Linked DNA regions of Homo sapiens: region 2 is linked to region 1. The links are contacts of gene promoters, found by promoter capture Hi-C in human tissues and cell types (Jung and others, 2019). All regions are on one chromosome and are shown on one strand. The core of a region is centred on a gene start or on the middle of the fragment in contact, and the rest is flanking DNA. Distances in the headings are between cores, read along the strand shown. Region 1 holds the start of LETMD1 (LETM1 domain containing 1). Region 2 overlaps GALNT6 (polypeptide N-acetylgalactosaminyltransferase 6).

Evidence for each region. The method cuts DNA at HindIII sites, captures the fragments that hold promoters and counts their contacts. A contact is called where the count stands out against the background at its distance.
Region 2: a contact is called between a fragment that was not itself captured here and the fragment with the promoter of LETMD1 in region 1, in 1 of the 25 tissues and cell types used here (spleen).

Annotation. Positions count from the first base shown.
Region 1 is chr12:51,046,401-51,050,371 of GRCh38, forward strand. LETMD1 (LETM1 domain containing 1) reads left to right here and starts at 1,927. Exons shown (of 9, transcript NM_015416.5): 1 at 1,927-2,078; 2 at 2,634-2,785. The coding sequence starts at 1,957. RefSeq lists enhancers at 1,202-1,321, 1,372-1,451, 1,542-1,811, 1,633-2,171, 1,922-1,971 and 1 more. The HindIII fragment of the contact is 9,846 bases long and covers 1-3,971 here.
Region 2 is chr12:51,382,349-51,386,319 of GRCh38, forward strand. All of the region lies in intron 2 of GALNT6 (polypeptide N-acetylgalactosaminyltransferase 6), which reads right to left. Among named protein-coding and RNA genes, the nearest start is that of GALNT6, 7.1 kb to the right of the region's middle. The HindIII fragment of the contact is 3,077 bases long and covers 270-3,346 here.

The DNA.
Region 1 (3,971 bases), core at 677-3,176:
TTTTTTTTTTTGAGACAGTCTCACTCTGTTGCCCAGGCTGGAGTGCAGTGGTGCGATCTTGGCTCACCTCAACCTCCGCCTCCTGGGTTAAAGCGATTCTCCTGCCTCAGCCTCCCGAGTAGCTGGGATTACAGGCGCCCACCACCACATCCGGCTAATTTTTGTATTCTTAGTAGAGATGAGGTTTCACCATGTTGTCCAGGCTGGTCTCGAACTCCTGACCTCGGGTAATCAGCCCGCTTCGGCCTCCCAAAGTGCTGGGATTACAGGCATGAGCCACGGCGCCCAGCCGTCTTAGTCAACTTTCTATCCCGTCCACCCCATCTACCCAACACTTGTGAAGATCCAGGGCCATCTTTTAAAACTTTTCCTCTGACTGCACGAGTGGTACAGTCATTAATAACCTGTGCTAATATAAAGCTCTGTGACCCATAAAGCATTATACAGATGTGGGAGCTTTCACAGCTGTATTCTCTTTGGATCCTCAAAGATTTCTTATAAAGTAGGTACTATTATAAGGGAAATAAACTCAGAGCTAAAGTGACATATCCAAGGTAACATTCACTAAAACAAACGTCAATGCCAAGATTGAACCTATATCCAGGGAACCCACATGGGATGCTCTACCACCTTCCATGAAGAATAAATATTCATATATATCCAAGAGGACTGTTAATTCTTGGAGGCAGTTAAGTACCACTTCTGGGAATCCTTCTTAGTTTCAAGTATGAATCTATTCAAACATGTTTACTGAACACCTACTATGTGCTAAGTAAGGCACCTAGTGTTGGAGGTGCAGCAATGAACAAGGCAGAGAAGATGCTTACCCTCATTCTAGTTCAGGGAGCTGTCAAACAAGGACACAAATACATAAACACTGTAAGTGACAGATGCTACAAAGAAAATACAAGGCCGGGTGCAGTGGCTCACGCCTGTAATCCCAGCACTTTGGGAGGCCAAGGCTGGCGGATCACTTGAGGCCAGGAGTTGAAGACCAGCCTGACCAACATAGTGAGATCCCGTCTCTACTAAAAATACAAAAATTAGCCGGGCGTGGTGGCGGACGCCTGTAATCCCAGATACTCGGGAGGCTGAGGCAGGAGAATCGCTTGAACCCGGGAGGCGGAGGCTGCAGTGAGCCAAGATCGCGCCACTGCACTCCAGCCGGGGCGACAGAGCAAAACTGTCACAAAAACAAAACAACAAAACAAAACAAAACAGAGTAACATGAGAATAAGTGTGAAGTGTGTCCTTTTCGCCGGCACTGCTTCAGATAGGGTGGTCACAGAAATCCTCTCAGAATAGTAACATTTAAGTTGAGACAGAGCTTGGTCTTCGGTAGGTGCTTAACGAAAACCATTTTCCCACAAACTTAGTTCTGGAAACGACAAAGAGAGGAAAAAGTGTACTCAGTCCGCACAGGGGCCGCTCCCAGGCCTCCAACCTTCGCCGCCAGACTGACTGGAAAGTGGACAGTTCCCGGCCTATCCACGCCGGCACCATTAGAGGGCGCCGCGGGTCCTCCTAGCCCCAGGCACTGGCAAACTGACATCTGCTACCTAACAGTCGAGGCTCCGACGCCCCGAGTCCAGGCAGAGGGCAAGGGCGGCGCTGGGAAGCCCTGAGGCCCTAAGGAATCGCGGAGGGTCACTGGGCGCCTCAAGGACAGGGTGCCCTCCGCGTCGCAAACCCACACCAGTGGCATAAGAACTCGCTCCCTCTGGGACACCCTGTTTCCGGCGCCTTTAAACCTGGAAGTACTGCTGTGTCCAATCCTGGCCCTCCTTCCGCACTTAGTCTTTGAGTCCTTCCCTCTCCTGGCTTGTGCTGGAGCCAAGCAGGCTATGGCTACCAATCAGCGCTCAGAAAAGACGCATGCGTCTTCGAACGAACGCGACGTACGGTTAACTTTGACCCAAAGACAACCTCTTCTCTCCCGCTTCTCTCGCTGTGAAGATGGCGCTCTCCAGGGTGTGCTGGGCTCGGTCGGCTGTGTGGGGCTCGGCAGTCACCCCTGGACATTTTGTCACCCGGAGGCTGCAACTTGGTCGCTCTGGCCTGGCTTGGGGGGCCCCTCGGTGAGGGACCTGTAGCGAGAAAAGCATTTTTGACGTCCAGGCTCTTTCAGTGTCTCAACCTTGCTTGCATTCTGTCTCTTAATTCTCAGAGTTCCACGCCTTGGCCCTGGAATTTTTATTCTTCTGTTCAGGATTCAAACTCCGATCCCCACTAGTGACCCGGCTTCCTGACCCTCTGTACTCTCAGTGCCCCATATTGTCTGGTTTCCCCGCGTGTCCTGAGCTCATCTTTCAGCCTCACTTTTTCGGCTCAGGTTTTACCGCTGCTATCTCGATTCCACCTCTTTCTGACTTAGCCTGCAGTTCAAATTGTCCCACAGGCATTGCGCTCTCTCCAGAGGCATACCCTGAGTTACTTTCCTGCCTGGCCTTTGCCTGATTTGTGTTTCACAGTCTGATTGCCTATCTCTTCTTGACCCCAAGACCTTCCTTGGATTTCAGAAGTGTCAAGCCTTGGGATACAATCTCCGAGACTCCTGCTTTACATTAGGGACTCAAGGCGTGAGGGAGCTTCTAGGACTGATTCCCAGATAGTCTCTTTGATCTTCCTTGTAGGTCTTCAAAGCTTCACCTTTCTCCAAAGGCAGATGTGAAGAACTTGATGTCTTATGTGGTAACCAAGACAAAAGCGATTAATGGGAAATACCATCGTTTCTTGGGTCGTCATTTCCCCCGCTTCTATGTCCTGTACACAATCTTCATGAAAGGTAAAAACGAAACTACAATAGAAATTCCGGAATCAGCTCTTGGGCAGGGTCAAAGAGTTAGCATAAATAAGATCATTTGCAGGTTCTGCTATGGGGATGTGAGCCGAGATATCTTATATTTCATAAATGCCTGCGCCTTAAACTAATTCCTATAAATTAGCACTTCTTGAGAATGTTTCTAGAAAGATGTTATGAGAAACAACTTATGACAGCAACATGAGGGAGGGAGAATATAGGTATGTTCTCGTACTTTCTTAACCACACACCTGGCTATAGTAGAAATTTTTTGCCTTGCACACGGCAGGGATCTGTGGCTGTATAGACCTGCCCTGTGATGTATCAGTTGACTTACCCATAGGAAAATGAGGTCTAACCCTTGTTATGAATCTATATTAGGTAGTATGTTGTAGTGGCAATAGCCCTACATAATACTTGGTTTCTAAATGTTTTGTTTCAAATCAGAGATCCTTAGTTACTAGGAGAAGATATGTATCGTGTCAAGTGTCTACTCTGGAGCCAGATTGCCTGATTCAAATCCCAGTTCGTCACTGTGCGATTGGACTAATTAATTAACCCCTCTTTCCTTGGTTTTCTTATGTGTAAAATGGGAGTAATGGAACCTACCTATTTATCACATGATTGTGAAGACTTTAAAAATTGATACATGTAAAGTACCTAGAACAGGTCCTGATCCCTAGTAAGTGCCAAGTAAATGTTAACTTATTTTCATCTAAATGTTACCTAACAGTATTATAAGTTGGTGCAAAAGTAATTGCGGCTTTTGGCTTTCAGTGGCAAAAACCACAATTGCTTTTGCACCAAATCTATAATATGCTCTATGCTTTTATCATAACACTATAATAAACTACATTGTCAAATCTGAACATTATCATAATTATTACTAGCTTCATGGACTTGAAAAATTACTTATCCTTAATTTGTAGAGATAAAATTGGCTGCTTTTTCTGTTTTCATGTAGATAAATAGGATCAAATGAGAGAAAGGGATGAAAGCATTTGTGTTTGTTTTTAAACTTTTTATTATGAATTTTTTTTTTTTTTGAGTCTCACCGTGTCGCCCAGGCTGGAGTGCAATGGCATGATCTCGGTTCACTGCAACCTCTGCTTCCCGGATTCAAGCAATTCTCCTGCCTTAGCCTCCCAAGTAGCTGGGAATACAGGCGCCT
Region 2 (3,971 bases), core at 558-3,057, 340 kb after region 1:
GCTGAAGGAGCCGGCATGCAGGAAACTCAGCAAATGGGGGAGGGCAACATCTGTGAAGAAATCTCACGGGGGCAGAAATGGGCCGAACACTAACTGGCGAGTAGGAGTCAGCGAGGCGAGGTGAGCACATTTCAGGCAGAAGGCACAGTACCTGCAATGGTCTAGAGGTGGGAGACAGAAGAGCCAGTCACAGAACTGTAAGCAGTCTGGTATGGCAGGAGTAGCAGAAATTGGGCCTACAGAGGTGGCTGAAACCAAGTCCTAAGGGCCTTGTTCATCATGCTGAGGAGCATTTGCCCTTGACCCAAGGCATGGGGAGTAATAAAGCGTTAAGCTGGGAGCCCAGCATTACAGGAAGAGCAATATGACAGCGGTGGAGGGTATCTTGGAAAGGGACCTGCTTGGCAGCTGGATGACCCATTCGGAGTCTGACCCAGGAGAGTTAGTAGCAGTGTGGATGGAAGAGGGAGGGTATGGTGCCTAGGAAGACCCCCTTGGGTGATGGGGTGGGACAGTTTACCCCGTCTGGTACACAGAGGGACACAAAGGCTCAATTCCTTTCCCCAAGGGATTTGAAAATCTTATTGGAGAACGAGAACTGATAGCACTGACCAGGTGAAGGAAGCACCTGACCAGGGGAGATTCAGGAGCAGGAAAAGGACCTTTCACTGAATACTCTTTTGTACTTTGAACCCTGACTATATTACTTATTCAAAAATGAATAAAATTAAAGCAGAATAGCACAGACAGTAAGAGCTAAGCTGAGAGAGGTAGAGTTCCCTGTGGGTTTGAGGAAGGCTTCGGGGAGGAAATGGGGATTCAGTGTAGCAGGAGTTTCTTGTCACAGAGGTTGAGCTATGCTGGGGCTAGCACAGGGGGATTTGCTTGAGCTAGACACCTCATCAGTTCTGGAACTGTCCCGGCTAAGCCCACACAGAGGCCTGCAGAATGGGGGAGTGTTTGCCATGACAGCTTTGAACCGTCCTGCAGGCTTCGTCTTCCCTGCTACTTTCCATCTACCTTCCCACTCCAGCAAGAAAGAGGGAGCACAGTTAGAAACAAAGGCATGGTAAGATTGTAGTTACTAACTGTTGCCAGTGCTCAAGACTCACCCCCTCCAGGAAGGCCTCCTGACTGATTCACTCAGAATCACCTAGGTTACTCCAACTCTTTCATCCTGGCACTGCCTCGTGGTCCCTCACAGCAGGGCCTGTTTTTGCTTCTTTTATTTTCCCTGGAGAAAGAAATATAGGGTTAAATTGAGCTCTTCCTAGGCATCTAATCTCTCAATCCCATCTGGCTGCCTGAAGCTTTCTCTCTCAAACCTACAGTTCCTCAAGGTACTAACCACATCCTGAACCGAAATGAGACACCTGGGATTAGCCTTGGTGGTGAGGCACTCATTCTCTAGTTTGTTTGCTTAGCATGAGGGCAACAGGAAGAGTCCCTTAGAAGAGACACAGAATCTAGTGCAAGCCACAGGACTTTGGGGTTAAGGATTTCTGCTCCCTGTGTAGGAGATGATTCCCAGAAGTATGGTTAGCAAGGTCGTGGAGGTCGCCCCTCCACCAGCCTTGGAGAAAGAATAGCTGCTATTCTTTGCTATTGTTTCAAGTACAAAGCTTCACGAGATCCGCCCCTGGTGTCTTGTATATCTCCCTCACCTTTGGGCTCCCACACCTGGCCTCCTGCTTTCCTGGCAAGTGTGCCCGCAGCCCCCATCCACTCATTTCCCTCTCGCTGTGGCTCAGCACTTCTTCCCAAGTCTTTTTCCTCCAGCTACCCTTGGGCCTGCAACTCTTTGGACCATCCTTGGCTTTGATCCCGAGATGATGCCAGAAATCCTCTCTGAAAAGCCTGCCTAGATTGAACAAATGGGATTTGCTTCCCTGGCCCCACCGGCCAGAACACAAACTTACCTTCTCTCACTGGTGTAAGGAACTGAGGCTTTACCCAGCCCAGCTTGTATCAAACTGCTGATTACAATCCACTGTGATATTATAAAATAAATTCAGAGTGTTGCAAATTAGCATTCAAAAATTTCTTTAAAAGACCAGTTAGGACCAGGCACAGTGGCTCACACCTGAAATCCCAGCACTTTGGGAGGCCATGGTGGGCAGATCACTTTAGGCCAGGAGTTCAAGACCAACCTGGCCAACATGGTGAAACCCCTTCTCTACTAAAAATACAAAAATTAGCCAGGCATGGTGGCATGTGCCTGTAATCCCAACTACTCAGGAGACAGAGGCAGGAGAGTTGATTGAACCTAGGAGCTGGAGGTTGCAGTAAGCAGAAATAGCACCACCGTACTCCAGCCTGGGTGACAGAGCAAGACTCTGTCTCAAAAAAAAAAAAAAAAAAAAGACCAATTAGCAAAAAGAGACCAGTTAGCTGGGTGTGGTGGCATAGGCCTGTAATCTCAGCTACTTGAGAGGCTGATGCTGGAGGATTGCTTGAGCCCAGGAGGTTGAGGCTGTAGTTAGTTATGATCATGCCACTGCACTACAACCTAGGCAATAGAGCGAGACCCTGTCTCAAAAAATAAAAATAAATAAATTTTAAAAACCCAGAATAGAATGAAAAGAAAATATCAAAGTGCATCATGTATCACATGTAACACAGGCAAGTATTCGTTTTTTCTTTCTTTCTTTTTTTTTGGAGACAGGGTCTCATTCTGTTCCTTAAGCTGGAGTGCAGTGGTGCAATCTCAGCTCACTGCAGCCTTGACCTCCTGGGCTCAAAGGATCCTCCTACCTCAGCCTCTGGAGTAGCTGGGACCATAGGTGTGTGTCATCAAGACCGGCTAATTTTTATTTTTTGGTAGAGATGGGGGTCTCACTATGCTGCCCAGGCTGGTCTTCAACTCCTAGGCCGAAGCAATCCTCCTGCCTTGACCTCCCAAAGTGCTGGGATTACAGGTGTGAGCCATCATGTCCAGCCTGAAAAGTAAACTTTTATTTTAATGTTTGTTTCAGTCTATTAAAGATACACACTGCCTGATACAAAATTAAAATGATAAATTTGTTATTCAAAATTCATACAACTAAAGACAAAAGAAGTTTAAATGATTCCATTTTCAAATGATAGTTTTTATGGTTTGCAGAATTTATGCTTGTAATGTGATTAAATTATAAAACTGCCCTAAGATTTTTGGGATGCCCTGTCACATATACACAGGTACCGGGTCTCGCTATAAAGTATATTTCTCACTTTGGTCAAGTCATAGAAGTTTGAAAGCCAGTGACACAGTCCAAACCCCACAGTTTATATTCTAGCCCCCCTCCAAAAAGCCTTCTCAGATCTCCCAGCAGAATTCATCTCTTCCCTGCTTTGCCCCCTTAGCACCCGATTTTTATTTGTACTCCAGTCTCATCACAGCCCACCCTGTGTTTATGGACTCCTGGACCAGAGAGGCCATGCCATTTCCAGCTTTTTATCACCTACAAAGTCTAGCACAAGTTTTACATATAGCAGGTGTTCCATAAACTTTTTTTTTTTCTCTTGGAGACAGGGTCTCACTCTGTCACCCAGGCTGAAGTGTAGTGGCATGAACACAGCTTTCTGCAGCCTCGACCTCCCAGGCTCAAACAATCCTCCTATCTCAGCCTCCTGAGTAGCTGGGAATACAGAGGTGCGTGCCATCAGGCCTGGCTAGTTCCACAAACTCTTGTTAAATGAGATGAGGTTGGAAGGGTTAAATGTGGAGCACTGGCTTCACTAAATGATGTTCTGAATGAACTTACTGCAAGAAATACTTGACTTACAGGATATTCTGCCATTACACATTAGCTTGCTGTTTTGACTAGGTCTGTCTGTGGGTCTAACACCCTCATTTTATCAACGGCGAGGCCAGAATGGTTAGGTGACTTCTCTAGCAACACACAGCTAGTGGCTCCCAGGAGTAGAACCCGATCTCTCAACTCCTAGACCACTACTCTGTTTACCACACTCATACCCGTGGAGGTTGAGTA